Linked DNA regions of Homo sapiens: all the other regions are linked to region 3. The links are contacts of gene promoters, found by promoter capture Hi-C in blood cells and fetal thymus (Javierre and others, 2016). All regions are on one chromosome and are shown on one strand. Each heading gives the region's core, a stretch centred on a gene start or on the middle of the fragment in contact. The rest is flanking DNA. Distances are from core to core; before and after follow the strand shown. Region 1 overlaps ARHGEF10 (Rho guanine nucleotide exchange factor 10). Region 2 overlaps ARHGEF10 (Rho guanine nucleotide exchange factor 10). Region 3 holds the start of KBTBD11 (kelch repeat and BTB domain containing 11).

Evidence for each region. Contacts are between HindIII fragments. The CHiCAGO score rates a contact against its expected background, and 5 or more counts as called.
Region 1: a contact is called between a fragment that was not itself captured here and the fragment with the promoter of KBTBD11 in region 3, in 1 of 17 cell types (monocytes). The highest score is 5.4, in monocytes.
Region 2: a fragment that was not itself captured here is called in contact with the fragment with the promoter of KBTBD11 in region 3 in 1 of 17 cell types (neutrophils); the score reaches 5.1 in neutrophils.

What each region holds. Positions count from the first base shown.
Region 1 is chr8:1,895,126-1,899,647 of GRCh38, reverse strand. It overlaps ARHGEF10 (Rho guanine nucleotide exchange factor 10), which reads right to left. Exons shown (of 29, transcript NM_014629.4): 14 at 3,199-3,315; 15 at 1,123-1,215. Among named protein-coding and RNA genes, the nearest start is that of ARHGEF10, 73 kb to the right of the region's middle. RefSeq lists a silencer at 1,951-2,245. The HindIII fragment of the contact is 2,444 bases long and covers 695-3,138 here.
Region 2 is chr8:1,875,317-1,879,943 of GRCh38, reverse strand. It overlaps ARHGEF10 (Rho guanine nucleotide exchange factor 10), which reads right to left. Exons shown (of 29, transcript NM_014629.4): 8 at 3,210-3,373. Among named protein-coding and RNA genes, the nearest start is that of ARHGEF10, 54 kb to the right of the region's middle. The HindIII fragment of the contact is 252 bases long and covers 2,751-3,002 here.
Region 3 is chr8:1,970,922-1,975,678 of GRCh38, reverse strand. KBTBD11 (kelch repeat and BTB domain containing 11) reads right to left here and starts at 2,002. Exons shown (of 2, transcript NM_014867.3): 1 at 1,744-2,002. It overlaps KBTBD11-AS1 (KBTBD11 antisense RNA 1), which reads left to right and starts at 2,334. Exons shown (of 3, transcript NR_136275.1): 1 at 2,334-2,531; 2 at 3,016-3,139; 3 at 3,322-4,500. KBTBD11-OT1 (KBTBD11 overlapping transcript 1) reads right to left here and starts at 4,282. Exons shown (of 3, transcript NR_126346.1): 1 at 4,161-4,282; 2 at 3,642-3,754. The HindIII fragment of the contact is 3,527 bases long and covers 1-3,512 here.

The sequences.
Region 1 (4,522 bases), core at 667-3,166, 76 kb after region 3:
AAGCCAGAGGATAAAATTAACATGAGCCATCAACCTAACCATGGAAAGAGCCCATGTCGATATTTTAGTATGTATCCTTTTTCATACTTTGATGACTACATTTATTTAAAAAGAATGTGCCATGGATTTGGTTGGTCAAAAATAAAAATAACCTCAATGGAAGGGGACTTCACACTATTTCCCAGGCGCCAGTTCATTTCTGGCGATGACTCCACCAGTTCATCTTAATCGGCTCTAATAAGCAGGCAGTCCAAGCAAAGTCCTCTGATTTAATTAGAAAAAGCAAGCTGAGCAATCATTGAAAAATCAACACAGGCAGAAACCAGCATAGACTCTCCTTTGAAATATCCTCCCTGGAGGCATGGCATTCATTTAAATAAAATGGGTGCTGAGCCCCGCAGCCTACAGGGTCACCTGGGCTCCAGGTTATGTGGGAAGGTCGGAAAACGAGCGGGCAACCACACACTGCATCAGACGTGACCTAGAGGCCGTCCGCTGTGAGACGTCACGTCAGCACTCAGAACAGGCCTACTGTTCACAGCCACAGGTATCCAATTGAGAATCCTTAGTTTAGAGAAATGAGGGTCCAGTGGACAGTGTTTTCACCATCGCAGCATCTCCCTGTCCTCGGTGATTTGCTGTTAAATCAGTGATGGGTATGTTTTGTTTAAATCTATTCTTAGCTTTCCAAGCTTGTCCATCCCCTCTGGGCACAGAGGCGAGAATCATTTTTCATGTGATCCTAGACCAGACACAGACACACTGGAGAAGGGAGCTGTGACCTGTGGGCCACTGATAACCAAGCCCCGCGGCCCCCCAGTGCTGGGGCCCTGTGAGAGCACGTGAGGCAGGCCAGGGCCCACAACACCCCTCCCCGCAGCCCATCCCCTCTGTCCCCCAAGGCTGGCCTCGCAGGCACTGGGCCCTACAGCTGCCCCCGGCGTAGGGTGACTCTCCGCAGGTCTCCACCTGCCTCTACCCTCCACCTCCTGTAACTGCCTAGAGAGGAGATGAGGAGGCCCGAGGGGCAGCCATTCCAAAGTGGAGGAACAGACGCCATTTTCAAATGAGTCATGGGCGAGCCAGAGGACTAGCTTGAGGAGGTCTCCGTGAAGCACTTACCTGGAGCAGGAGGATGAACTGTGGGAACCTCTGGATGGGCTTCATCATCAGGCTGTAGAGCGTGGTTCGATCGGGGCTGGCCTCCTGTTCCTGCTGTGGGGGAAGGCACCGGGGTCACCTCCCTGCAGGGCTGCCATGCCCTCCCTGCCCCTGGGGCCGCCTCCTCCCCACCACACTGAACACTCGGGAAAGTCAAAAGCCTGCACCTTGTCTTCAGCTACAAGAAGAAACTTGGCCAAATACCTTCCAGCCACTTTCTGCACCTGCTCTAGGGGCTTCCGCTTTGCTGCAGGGGCCCGACCTCACACGTTGGCCTCAGCTCCAGGGGTGAATTCCCCGGGCCAGGGGACTGGGCAGATTCCAGGGGCTGTCCTTGGGTGTCTGTGTTCTGGCCATAGTGGGCCCCCAGAAAAGGCTGGCAACCTCTTCCGGTGCCATGGGCAGAAAGACGTCCTGGAGGCTGACGGCTCCTCTCCCTGAGCACATCAGGGATGTGCAGTGGGGCCATTTGCTACCAAGGCTGTTGGGCAATGTTGACCTGGGGGGAGTCTCCAGGTCCCTCTGCTGAGGGGGCTGTGCAGTGGAGAGGGCAGACAGCACAGACCTGGCTGTGCCTCGGCCTCTCAGCTCACAGGGCACCCGACTCTTTGGGGCTCAGGTCCTGGAGCAATGAAATGGGATGAGAGAGTCTATCTCCCAAGGCCACGTGGCAGCCACCGAGCTGAGGAGTGGGCACTGCGGTCACGGCCACGGCTGGCATCCTTAATGGGAGTACAGCAAAATCCCCAGAGGGAGTGAGCTCTTAAGTGAGTCCATGTTTTCTTTCCCCAAAAGAAAGAGATGGTTCCCTAGCCAAAGGACAGAGGCCACAACTGTCCACAGTGGGAACTGCAATCCGATGCCTTAGGACAGAGCCCACAACTGTCGAGAGTGGGAACTGCGATCCGATGCCTTAGGACAGAGCCCACAGCTGTCCAGAGGGGGAACTGCGATCCGATGCCTTAGGACAGAGCCCACAGCTGTCCAGAGGGGGAACTGCGATCCGATCCCTTAGGACAGAGCCCACAACTGTCGAGAGTGGGAACTGCGATCCGATCCCTTAGGACAGAGCCCACAGCTGTCCAGAGGGGGAACTGCGATCCGATCCCTTAGGACAGAGCTCACAGCTGTCCAGAGTGGGAACTGCGATCCGATCCCTTAGCAAACCTCCATGGGCCACAGACTGTGCTCCAGGAGGAGCAGGAGCCGCCGTGCTGGATAAGGCAGAGGGAAAAAATTCCAGCTTCAATGACACGTTGCTGTGGGCGAGAATACTTGCCCTGTGTTCACTCGCTCCAGGTAGCAGCAGTTTCCAAGAAACAGTCCAAGTAACAAGAACACACTTTGTCCCCGGGGTTTATCATGCAAATGAGGGGCTCCACAAAGGAGACTCAGTTCCGCCGACGTCTTTGAAGGGGGTTTCAGCTTGGTTCATTGTGCAGCAAACTGTCAGAACACAGCCTCGGACACGCATCCCACGACTGGGGAAGCCCTGCCTGCCTGCTGATTAAATAACGCTAACCCACACCCATCAGGGGACGTGCTCCCCATCACTGCCAGGTCAGAGACCCCTGAGGAAGGCCATCAGTGCTGTCCTCAGCATTGGGAGGAACACAGCCTGCGTCCCCCTCGGGTAGGGCCCGCTCCAGGCTCTGACTCTCCAGGCCGGTGCCTCTCCCCGATCCCAAAGAGGCCTGGAATTGAGATGTTTAGTTTATTTGATTCCTAATACCATACCGAAGGACAGTGAGGGAAAGGTAACTTTGGGATCTGATCTTGACTTCTTTTTTGGGGATCTGATTTTAACTTTCTTTCTGTCTGTCTGCTGATACACTTTTAAGAAGGTGCAAATAAAATTGTTTTCAAAAAGCTACATTAGGACCTAAAATTCATCTTCATTTCTAGCATTAATCCAATATCTAGGGCACTATTGATACTGAAATCTTAATAACGAATAACTGCATTCAGAGTCAAGCTTTGACATGTAACTTGTTATCAGATGGTGTTAAAACCCAAATGAAAAAAAAAAGCGCTTACCTTTAAAAATTCAAGAAAAGCGGGCTTTGTGGCACATGTTTTCTTGAGGACTGCCACGGCTGTGCTGAAATTGTTCACATATTCACTGTATGCATCCAGCACCATGGACTTAGAAAACTGAAACACAGGAGGAAATTCAGAGAGAAATCACAGAGTCCAGATATCCCTTTTCCAACATAAAACAGAAGATTTGAAACTCGCCCTCAAAATACTCTTTCGGTCACTGTGATGTTTTCATAAGATAAACTTTATTATGACTGTGTGATTTTTTTTCTTTAAGCAAGCGTGTTAGGAGTTAAGTTGCTGGTTTGACCTTATTTTTTGACTCCAGAGCACTTTCTGACATCCTTGTTCAAAACCATGGTAATTTGGGTTTCAGTTAAGAATGTTCATGACTACAGACAAATAAGGATGGTGATTTTAAGTTCCTGCCAAGTCTCACTTGGTGGGTTCAACCTCCAGGCAAGAAAGTCATGCAACTCATTCCATGGTGGGCCCAATATCCTGAGAAACAGGCCTCAACCACACCCTAGAAATGGGGGCTGGGGGCGGGGGCTGATCCTGCTTCTCTGGCGTAACATACAATGCCCTACACGTGTTCGTTTTCCTAAAAGCACAAAGGTTTCTGTTAAGAGGCAGAAACATTTGCCCTTGCTATCAATATTCAAAGAGAGAAAAATCACTCCATGTTATTCTAAGAAACCGTAAGTCCTTTAGGATGGATGGCAGAGCTCTGGTGTGACTGGCATTGATAGCAGGAATGTTTTCATCAAAATTCTATTTCTTTAAAAAATCTGTTTGCATTTTTAAAAATGTTGGGAAGGTAGGTATTTAAAGAACAGTGATAAGGTTGAACCTAATATATAAAACAGCCAGAAAAAAAATCCAATAACAAAATAAATATCCAATATTTCTCTTTTTTTAAGGATCCATAAACGGTATTATGCAAATATCTTTGAAAGAATTTTGTTTCCATATTTATTCAAAGCATTTATAGACCTCATCAAGTACATATACAAACTATATAGGAAAACATTTCACGTATTATTATTATAACATTCATTTAAGAAGAGGAACACTTTTTTCAAAACTTGCAAGCTTATATCCCTTTGATAGCATCATAGTCTCAAATAATTACAGAAACCAATCTGTTTCACTCATAATCCTCTACATCTAGGTAGAATCCAACCAATATACAATAAGTATGATTCATACACGGAGTGAGGATAAAATGACTCGAAACTGCCAGTGCAGAAACCACCAGTGGTTTCCAGGCAGCTAACCCTTTCTCCTGCCAGGAAGTGTTCAGGCAAGCTGTTGCAAC
Region 2 (4,627 bases), core at 1,627-4,126, 97 kb after region 3:
GGCCTGTCCTGGCTGGGGGCTTCTGGGACCACACGCGAGAGTCCCCATTACTAGCCCAGTTGGTCCTTGAGAGATAAATGCACAAATAGTTGGCTGGGCGCAGTGGCTCACCCCTGTAATCCCAGCACTTTAGGAGGCGGAGGTGGGAGGATCAATTGAGCTCAGGAGTTCAAGACCAGCCTGGGCAACGTGGTGAAACCCTGTCTCTATTAAAATTACAAAAATTAGCCAGGTAGGGTGGTGCGCGCCTGTGATCCTAGCTACTTAGGAGGCTGAGGTGGGCGAATTGCTTGAGCCTGGGAAGTGGAGGCTGCAGTGAGCCGTGATGGTGCCACTGCCCTCCAGCCTGGCAGACAGAGTAAGACCCTGTCTCCAAAAAAAAAAAAGAGAGATAAATGCAGAAATGAGCTAAACATGGCATCAAAAGACAGACACTATCCAGACACCAGGCTAGGGTCTTCTCTGTGCTAGACAGGAGCAAATGCACGCACACAAAATATCTGTGAAATCATTCGTTTACATTTTGGTGGAATAAAAATTATCCAATAAATAAAAATACATAAAATCATTTTTTATGTTGGCATCCAAGCAAAAGATACTTGTATTTAAACTATACTGAAAGTGACATATTTTGGGGATGGCAGCACGGATTTTCAAGGGTCTCCAACCTGAGATCACTTTCTCTCTAACTGACGGGACTGGGGACCCCCTGGATCCTTCTCCGTGTGGTCACAGACACTTCAGATGCACGTGGCTGAGGCCCCACTGGCTCGTCTCGGGGCATTTCTCATGTCACAGACACTTTAGGAAGTTTTTAACAAAATTCGAGATTTTTTGAGATGACTTTTGAACAACATATAGTTTTATTTTGGTCGTTTTTAAAATGTGACCCTTTGAACGAGAAAACTTGGTGCTGCCTGCAGCACTTCCATCCTGGACAGGCCTAACACACGGGCGCCCTGTCTGCACCCCACACAGTATTCCCACCCCCGGTCCAGGCCACTGTCCTGGCAACATGGACGTGTAGGAGAGGCTGGAAATGCAGAGCCCAGCGCTCCCGGGTTGTAATTCTGCACCACAAACCCACTGTGTGCTGGCTTTCCCCAGCTCCTTCGCCCAGCAGGGAGGGCTGCTGAACCACTGGCACTGCCCAGACAGTCAAGGGCTCCTCTGGGATACGGGCCCGCTCCAAAGCAAGGGCAGGGTCTCCTGAATTACTACCAAGGAGTGACTACTAATGCCTCTCGGCTCCTCAGTGGCCTGGCCCCTCTGTCCACAGCCCACCATGAAGGCGAAACTGAAGAGCATTTAACCCACGCTCCGAGGCACACACCGAGCCTCCATCTGTGATGTCAGAGCCCAGCACTCTTCTTAAATCTCAGTTTAAATCAAGTGTCTGACTCAGCTACAGCAAGCGAAATATCACCTCAGTTATCAGCTGTTAAAAACTACAATTGCAGGCCGGGTGCAGTGGCTCATGCCTGTAATCCCAGCACTTTGGAGGGCTGAGGCAGGCAGATCACGAGGTCAGGAGTTCGAGACCAGCCTGGCCAATATGGTGAAACCCCGTCTCTACTAAAAATACAAAAATTAGCTGGTAGTGGAAGGTGCCTATAATCCCAGCTACTTGAGAGGCTGAGGCAGGAGAATTACTTGAATCTGGGAAGTGGAGGTTGCAGTGAGCCGAGATCACGCCATTGTACTTCAGCCTGAGCGACAGGCAAGACTCCATTTCAAAGAAAAAAAAAACCCGAAAAACTACAATTGCAGCTTCATCGGTTGTTTAAATCGCAGTTGTAATGATGACGGTGGCAGAAAAGATCTAATTCCTGGAAGAACTTGTGAATGAAACTGGGTAGGTGAGCTGACTGCCAAGATCTAGTAGATTCTCCTTGAGTTTCACGAGCCAGGTTCACAGAATATGAGAATTGTAGGCAGCCCATAATCACTTGTAAACCATAGGGACGTGGCAGCTAGGTCCAGGAATGAAATCTCCGCTTACTGGGGGTTACTAGGGGACCGGAGGGATAACACCGGTTATCGACAACTGTCACTATGGCGGGCATCCGTTCACCATCTCTATCAGTAACACGGGACTCGCCAGCCTCAGACAAGGACTGCGTGTGGCTTCCATCTCAGCCTCACACAGAAAGTACACAGACATCACTGTAGATGAGCACAAATCTATCCTTTTACAAACAGTCAAAAAAAACTCTAACAAAACACCGGTGGCACGGCCTGGCACCACCGAGACCTGGGAGGTGCCTCAGCTGAATGGTTCCTGGGTTCCATGACTCACAACCACCCAATTCCAGAATTCACGCCTTACAGCTCTGACATCCCACCTCACACCCTAATCTCAAGACTTTTCCACAAAAAAAGTAAAATAAAAATTCCCTGTAAGAAAGGATCATCCGGCTGGGTGTGGTGGTTCACACCTGCAATCCCAGCACTTTGGGAGGCCGAGGTGGGCAGATCACCTGAGGTCAGGGATTCGAGACTAGCCTGGCCAACATAGGGAAACCCCATCTCTAATAAAAATACGAAAATTAGCTAGGAGTCATGGCAGGCACCTGTAATCCCAGCTACTTGGGAGGCTGAGGCAAGAGAATGGCTTAAACCTGGGAGGCAGAGATTGCAGTGAGCTGAGATTGCGCCATTGCACTCCAGCCTGGGAGACAGAACGAGACTCCATCTCAAAAAAAAGAAAAAGAAAAAAGAAAGGATTGTCACAGGTCAGTTTAGAAGCTTTTGTCCCTTAACATCTTCTATTTTTACGTCTTCCTTTTCATGCTGAACATGCTAAAGTTGAAACCTCACTTAAAGCAAAGTGCAGATGTGCTGTGTCTTAGGGAACCCCGATCCCATCTATTCAGTGTTCCGCAAACGGTGCTACGTGCAAAGCACATAATACATTAAAACACAAGCAATTCAGAGAATAACTACTTTCTTATTCAAGGTGGTGAGCTCATTTAAGACCTTTTAAGTGGATTATAGAAGCTTAATTTCTCCATCTTTCCATGACGATACTTAACTATATGAAACAAGACACGTCTTCTCCTTTGCCAATATCTTATGCTTTCCCCAAACTACTTATCAGCATCTTAACAAATCACTATGAAGTACTAGGTGGATCACAATCATATTCACAGCCCCCTGTCCGTGTTAACGCGAGAGAACCATCCCTCACATGTGCAGGGAACACGTACTTGCTTTTTGTGGTTGCTGCGCAGGAAGGACCTGGGAATCCCATTCTTGCACTCCGAGTCACTCTGCTCTTCGTAACTTTCAAATTCACTCGAACTCCATCCGTATTCCAAGGAGCTGTTTCCACCTTCATCCCCATTCTCAACATCATCATAAATCATTTCATCTGAGTGCATAAATTCCAAAATGAAATTAAAACTTTAGAATTCCATGTGGGCTGTTTTGTGCCTGTTTGTGGTTTTACCAAATCATCTAGAGCTGGGGGTGGAAGGAAATCTGAATCATGCTGAGGACCCTGCGGAGCCCCGGGCTTGCTCCATGGAAGGCACCGTGCAGCGCCTCCACCACCCGGGCAGGGCCGGGGAGGCTGGGGAAAAGCACTTCAGGTGTTTCTCACAAGTGCCCCTGCCCCATCTGTACCCCGAGGACCACCTGGCTATGGGCATCCGCCACAGTCATGCCAGGTAACTTGTCAGCCTTAGAGAACTTCACAAGAAGAAAAATCTTCCTTTATATAAACTTACAGGATGTTTTGAAAATTAGACAGAGAGAAATGGTGGACAGATGATAGGCATGTCGATGGACGGTGGATTATAGAAATATGGGTAGGTGGATGGATAGGTGGATGATACAGATATTCAAGTACCAGCACTAGCAAGAAAATACACACGGATTTTTAAATTTTCAATGCTGTGACACTAACAAGACTTTTAGAGAATGAAAATGACATTCTTCAAACTCCCAGAATATGAGTGTCTCTCTAACTCTTTTATCAGTCACACAAGCATAAATGTTTCTTTATTTTACCTGGTTTCTTAGATACAAATAATCTCCATGCCTTAAAAATATTAAATTTATTCTTTATGCATCCACAGTCATTCACTGTAACAAAACTTGGCCTTAAAAATCCTTAGTAATTAAGCACTGAGGAATATACACATCTCAGCACATAAGTAACATTCAAAGCCAACACTTGCTTTCACTGGAAATGCAAAATTAGACATGAACTTGTCACTTACAATCCTTAGATATTTCAAATTACCCTATCCTTGTAATATTTCTCCACTGACTACAAAACAGGTCCTCCAAATGTCTGATTAAAAGTTCTGGCAGGTCAACAGCAGCCTGGCAAAGCCATAAAATGCGTGAAATGAGCTCACTTTGCAGAAGCTGCAGTGTGTTCTGTGTGCCACGGACAATGATCACCACCCGGGCACCCAGCAGTCTCAGCAACTCAGCTCAGCGGATGAATGGGTCAAGTCCTTGCACAATTGCCTGAAATTTGGGGCTGGGCATCATCCTGAGAGCTCACCCACATGCCCAAGAGCCAAGAGTCATCCTGAGAGCCTACCCACGTGCCCAAGAGCGGAGGGTCTACAGCCTCTACCATGTACTAGGGGACTCAGAGAAAAGCACCCCT
Region 3 (4,757 bases), core at 753-3,252:
AAGCCCAATGCTGGCTTAAATACAGTCACGAATGGTTCAGATGCAGACAGGTTCTGAGAAATGATAGTTAGATAACTTCATCACTGTGCAAACATCACACAGGGCACCTACACACCTAGGCGGTGCAGCCTGCTACACACCTGTGCTCCACTGCACAGACTCCTGCTCCAGACTGCACACCTGTGCAGCGTGCACAATACCGCAGGCAATTGTAACACAATGGTGTTTGTGTATCTACACATTTCTAAGCATGAAAAAGACACAGGGAAAACAGTTTTATAATCTTACAGGACCACCGTCAACTTGGCGGTCTGTAATTGATCCGAACGTGGCTGTGCTACACATCACTATAATGTAAGCAACATCTTTTAACTGATTTTATTATGTGCTGTCCAATGCTATGGCCAGCAATGCCTGTGCAACTGACATGGAAAGTTCAAAGGCTTTACCTCATTACAATTTTTACTTAGTTATGCCCTGATGGGAGCATTGCAATGCCAGTTACCATAAATCTGCACACACGAGGTTGTTGCTGGAGCAAATCTGAAGGCAATGGAACGCTCCCTTCCGTGATGTCAGGAATGGGGAGGATTATTCTAATAATAGCACACTATTAGCTCAGGATAAAAGGCTGAAGGGTTCCATTGACATCCATTAAGGGGTCCTAATTGGAGCCTGAGTAACTGCTCCTTAGTGGGAAATGGAGGCGGGAACCGCGGGGAATCGGGCGAACTTCTCACTCAGGGCCTGAGGGGATGGCTGGAACTTTAAAATCTGACGGCGGCGCCTTTCGTGGGCTGAGTAGAATAAAGCTCGCTGCACTGATTTGTTCCTTTTCTTTTCCTTAGAATAGACACTGGAGTGGGTGGAGGGGGAAACGTGGTTTTGTAGGACTCTAAAGAGGTGGAGGGACTTTGGTTCACCCTCTTTTCATGCTCCAGAATGAGCCCCGCCTGAGAGGAGGGACCCCTGCGGAATCCCGCCCAGACCGCCCGGGGGTCTCCCCAGCACATGGGGCGGGGGCTGCAAGGGGCGCCCGGCAGGACTCGGGAGCCGCGGCGCGGTGGGGCGGGTGGGTCGCGGTGCTCGGGGCTCGCGGGGGTCAGCAGCCAGGACACCCCCGCACCCCGGGCGCAGCGGCGGAGGACCAAGGGCCGCGCTCCCCTCCCCAGGGCCCCGAGTCCAGGAGAGACCCCCGTTCGCTCCGGACAGCCGATCCCCGCGACCGCCGAGAGCCAAGCGGAGCAACCCCGGGAGGAGCCCCCGCCCTGGCCCCGCGCGCTTGGCTTCGGCTTCTGCTCCTGCTTCCGTGCCGGCTGGGGCGGCGGGACCCTCGGCGGGGGCGGTGACTGCGGGCGCGGCGCGGGCGGCTCATTGTCTTCCGGCCGGGGTTGCCGCGTCCCGGGGGAGGGCCTGTGGAGACCCCGCGAGGAGGCCCCCACGCCCCCCACGCGGCCTCCCGGAGGCGGAGCGGAGACCACCCACCGCCGCCCACCCCGCCGCGGGCAGCGCTGCCCCCTCCTCTCCCGGTCCCCCCTCCCCTCCCCTCCGCTCCGCTCCCCTCCCTCCCCTGCCGGCCTCCCCTCCCCGCCTCTCCCCTGCCGGCCTCCCCTTTTCTCCCCTCCCGCCTACTGCCGCTCTCGCCGACCACCTCCCACCCGCCGCCCCCTCCGACCCGCGCCTCGGGCTGCTTCCCGCTCCGCCCGCCAGGCCCCGCCGCTGCCTCCCCGGGGTCCGCCCTACCTCGCCGCGGCTCCTCTTCAGCCGCCGGGCCCGGGACGCGCAGCCAGGCGGGTGGGCTCCGGCGCATGCGCGCGGCCGCTTCCCGGCACCTGTGGGAGCCGCGGCCCGGCCTCTCCGAGCACCTGCGAGCGGGAGCTGCTCCTCCGACCCGCAGCGGGGCGTGGGCGGCAGAGGGGGCGGTGGACAGGCCTCTCCGCCTCTCCAGGCCGCGCGGAGCCAGCGCTCCGGCTCCAGGCTGCGAGGGGCGCGCGCGGGGCGCGGGGAGGGGGGCGGGCGCGTGCACACGGGGCGTTTTCGGGCGCGCGCCCCCTGGCTGGGTCTGCGGAGGGGCTGTGGGTTCCCCGGGGCTTCCCTGCCCCGCGCCTGCCCGCCGGGCGCTTCTCCCCCTCCAGGACCGCGGCCCACGTCGCCACTCGAGCCCGAGCCCGAGCCCGCGCCCACGCGCGGGGGCCGCTTCCTGCGAGGAGGCGGGGACAGGTGTCCGCGGGCGCAAACAGCGGAGTTTCGTGCGCCTATTTTTTGGTAAAAGTAGAGGCGATGCGTTGTTGACATATTTAGTGGTTAAAAACTTATTGCCAAATTCTCAACAGATTCCAGAATTTTTTAAAGTTCACAACACGAGAGTGGACGAAATGTCGGAGCTTTTGCTCATATCCAGAAATGTGGCCTCTGCCTCCCACTCGGGCCCTGCGGTGCAGACGGGTTCAGGGCGGCGAGGACTGAGCCAGGAGCGCCGAGAGTTCCAGCTGCTCCCAGGCTGGGTTCTAATTAACGCTGGACCCCTGCTGGTAAATGCTATTTTTAATGGCTTTGTGCAAATTAATGACGATGAGATTTCCATAAGTACCGAGAGCCAGAGCCTTTACTTTCTCTTTTTGTGTTCTTTTTGCTTGTGACAGTCTTTGCCAGTTCCATGCTGTATACACATAATGAGCCGTTACAACTCCAGCACCAAAGCTAACGCCCCGGGAACATCTTTAAAACCTTTTTCACTCTGTTGCCAAGAAGAGTAGTACCTGCTGTCAGTACTTGAATTACAGGAGGCTGAAACTCAGCGAGCTACTGGGATTTTTTGAAAATTGAAAACTTCCGTTAACTATAGCAGAAACAGACCCTTTTGGTGGAAGCTAAAATAATTCCCATGCTGCTCCGTTTTTATTTTGTTCAGTTTACTCCAAAAATGTTCCAAACTCTACTGTGATCTTCTTAGTGCATCTCTACTTCCTTTCGGCTGCAGAATAATACTTCTTTTTCTCTTTTGTTTTTTTTTAGAGATGGAGTCTCACTCTGTCGCCCAGGCTGGAATGCAGTGGTGCAATCTCGGCTCACTGCGATCTCTGCGTCCTGGGTTCAAGCAATTCTCCTGCCTCAGCCTCCCAAGTAGCTGTGACTACAGGCATGCACCACCACACCCAGCTAAATTTTGTATTTTTAGTAGAGACAGGGTTTCACTGTACATTGGCCAGGCTGGTCTCGATCTCCTGACCTCAAGTGATCCACCTGTCTTGGCCTCCCAAAGTGCTGGGATTACAGGCATGAGCCACCGCGCCTGGCCTAACTACCCCCATTCTTTTCCAGAGAAACGTGAACAGGCCAAACAAAGCCTCACCTGGCTATCCCGCCACCCTGGGGTTGGGCCTCCAAAGGCCCGGGAGGTCACCTAAGACACGGTGTTCTGAACATGCAAGCCCGACAGCATCTTCTCTACCATTCTGCCAGAGTCCAGAGACCTGGGAATAGGTCATACCCCCCACTGCATTTTACAAGCTTGGCATACATTAGGTTCTCAATAAATACTGAATTAATGAAAAAATTGCTGAAGTAACTGAAAACATCCATCCAAACCCCACACCATCTGGTAGATAAGTAGTCTGTGGGGAGTCCCATATTTTTCTTACCTTAGATATTTATTTGGAAATGGACTGTAGGCCCAATATGGTCAATGAAACTTGCAGAGGAACATTTCATGCCTTTAATTAGTTCTTCATAACTGCAGGGACCTCTAGAGTTCCTGAAATTGAACTGGGTTGTAATACTGTCAAGAAAAAGGAGGACCTATCTTAAATCTATTTCAAGGGTAATACTATTTTACTATGTAAATTTTCCCCTGGTCAGGGACAGCCTGATCATGCATGGTAGACTCGAAGCATGCAAATATTTCAACATGCAAAACCGCCCTAAAAATATAACCGAAGCTTATGGAGTTGTCCAGGGTACAGTGGTTTACTGGCCCCTGAATGCGGGACTCCATCAAACTGGGTTCCAGGCTGGGAGGTCTCTGAACCCAATTTCTAGACAGCCTGCTTTGGAGTTCAACTGATGGGACCTTAGACACCAGCCTTACCCTCTGCAAGTCTTGTGATTTGGAGCCAGATACTTGGCCTCTCTGTGCTCCAGGGAGACACCACTGCACCTACCTGAGAGGACTGAAGGAGAGGATCTGTGCAACTCACTCAGGATACTGGATCTTAAGCCAATGGGTGGACTTACATTCGTCACCTCTGATTCTGTCTCCTCCTGCGCGGTGACTTAGCAAACACTTCTTCCTCTCCAGCTCTGCTTCTTACTCTCCAGCTCTGCTGCCCTGTTCCAGTGCTGACGCCAGACAACAGATAATTTCCCAAATGCTTGTATTAGCCCTTAGGAGTTCATGTGTTCCTCCCCCAGCCAATAAAGCTGTTAAATCCCAATAACTGTCAGGAATGGAGCCAATTGCTATAAAGTACTTCCAGCTTCTTGGCATGAAGAAATAATTAGAATATATGTGTTGGCTTTGAAACAACACTCACTGGTTCATTAAAAAATTCTGTGCATATTGTACAAAAGTAGTCTTGGCCTTGGCACTCCCTTAGGTGAACCTTACCCGGCCCTGGCACTCCCTTAGGTGAACCTTACCCGGCCCTGGCACTCCCTTAGGTGAACCTTACCTACTTCAGTGCTTCCTCAGCTCTGATGAACTGTGTGCAATTGCGTTTTTGTCGCAAGCTGCTGCTTAAATACTGTGAAGCTCTTTC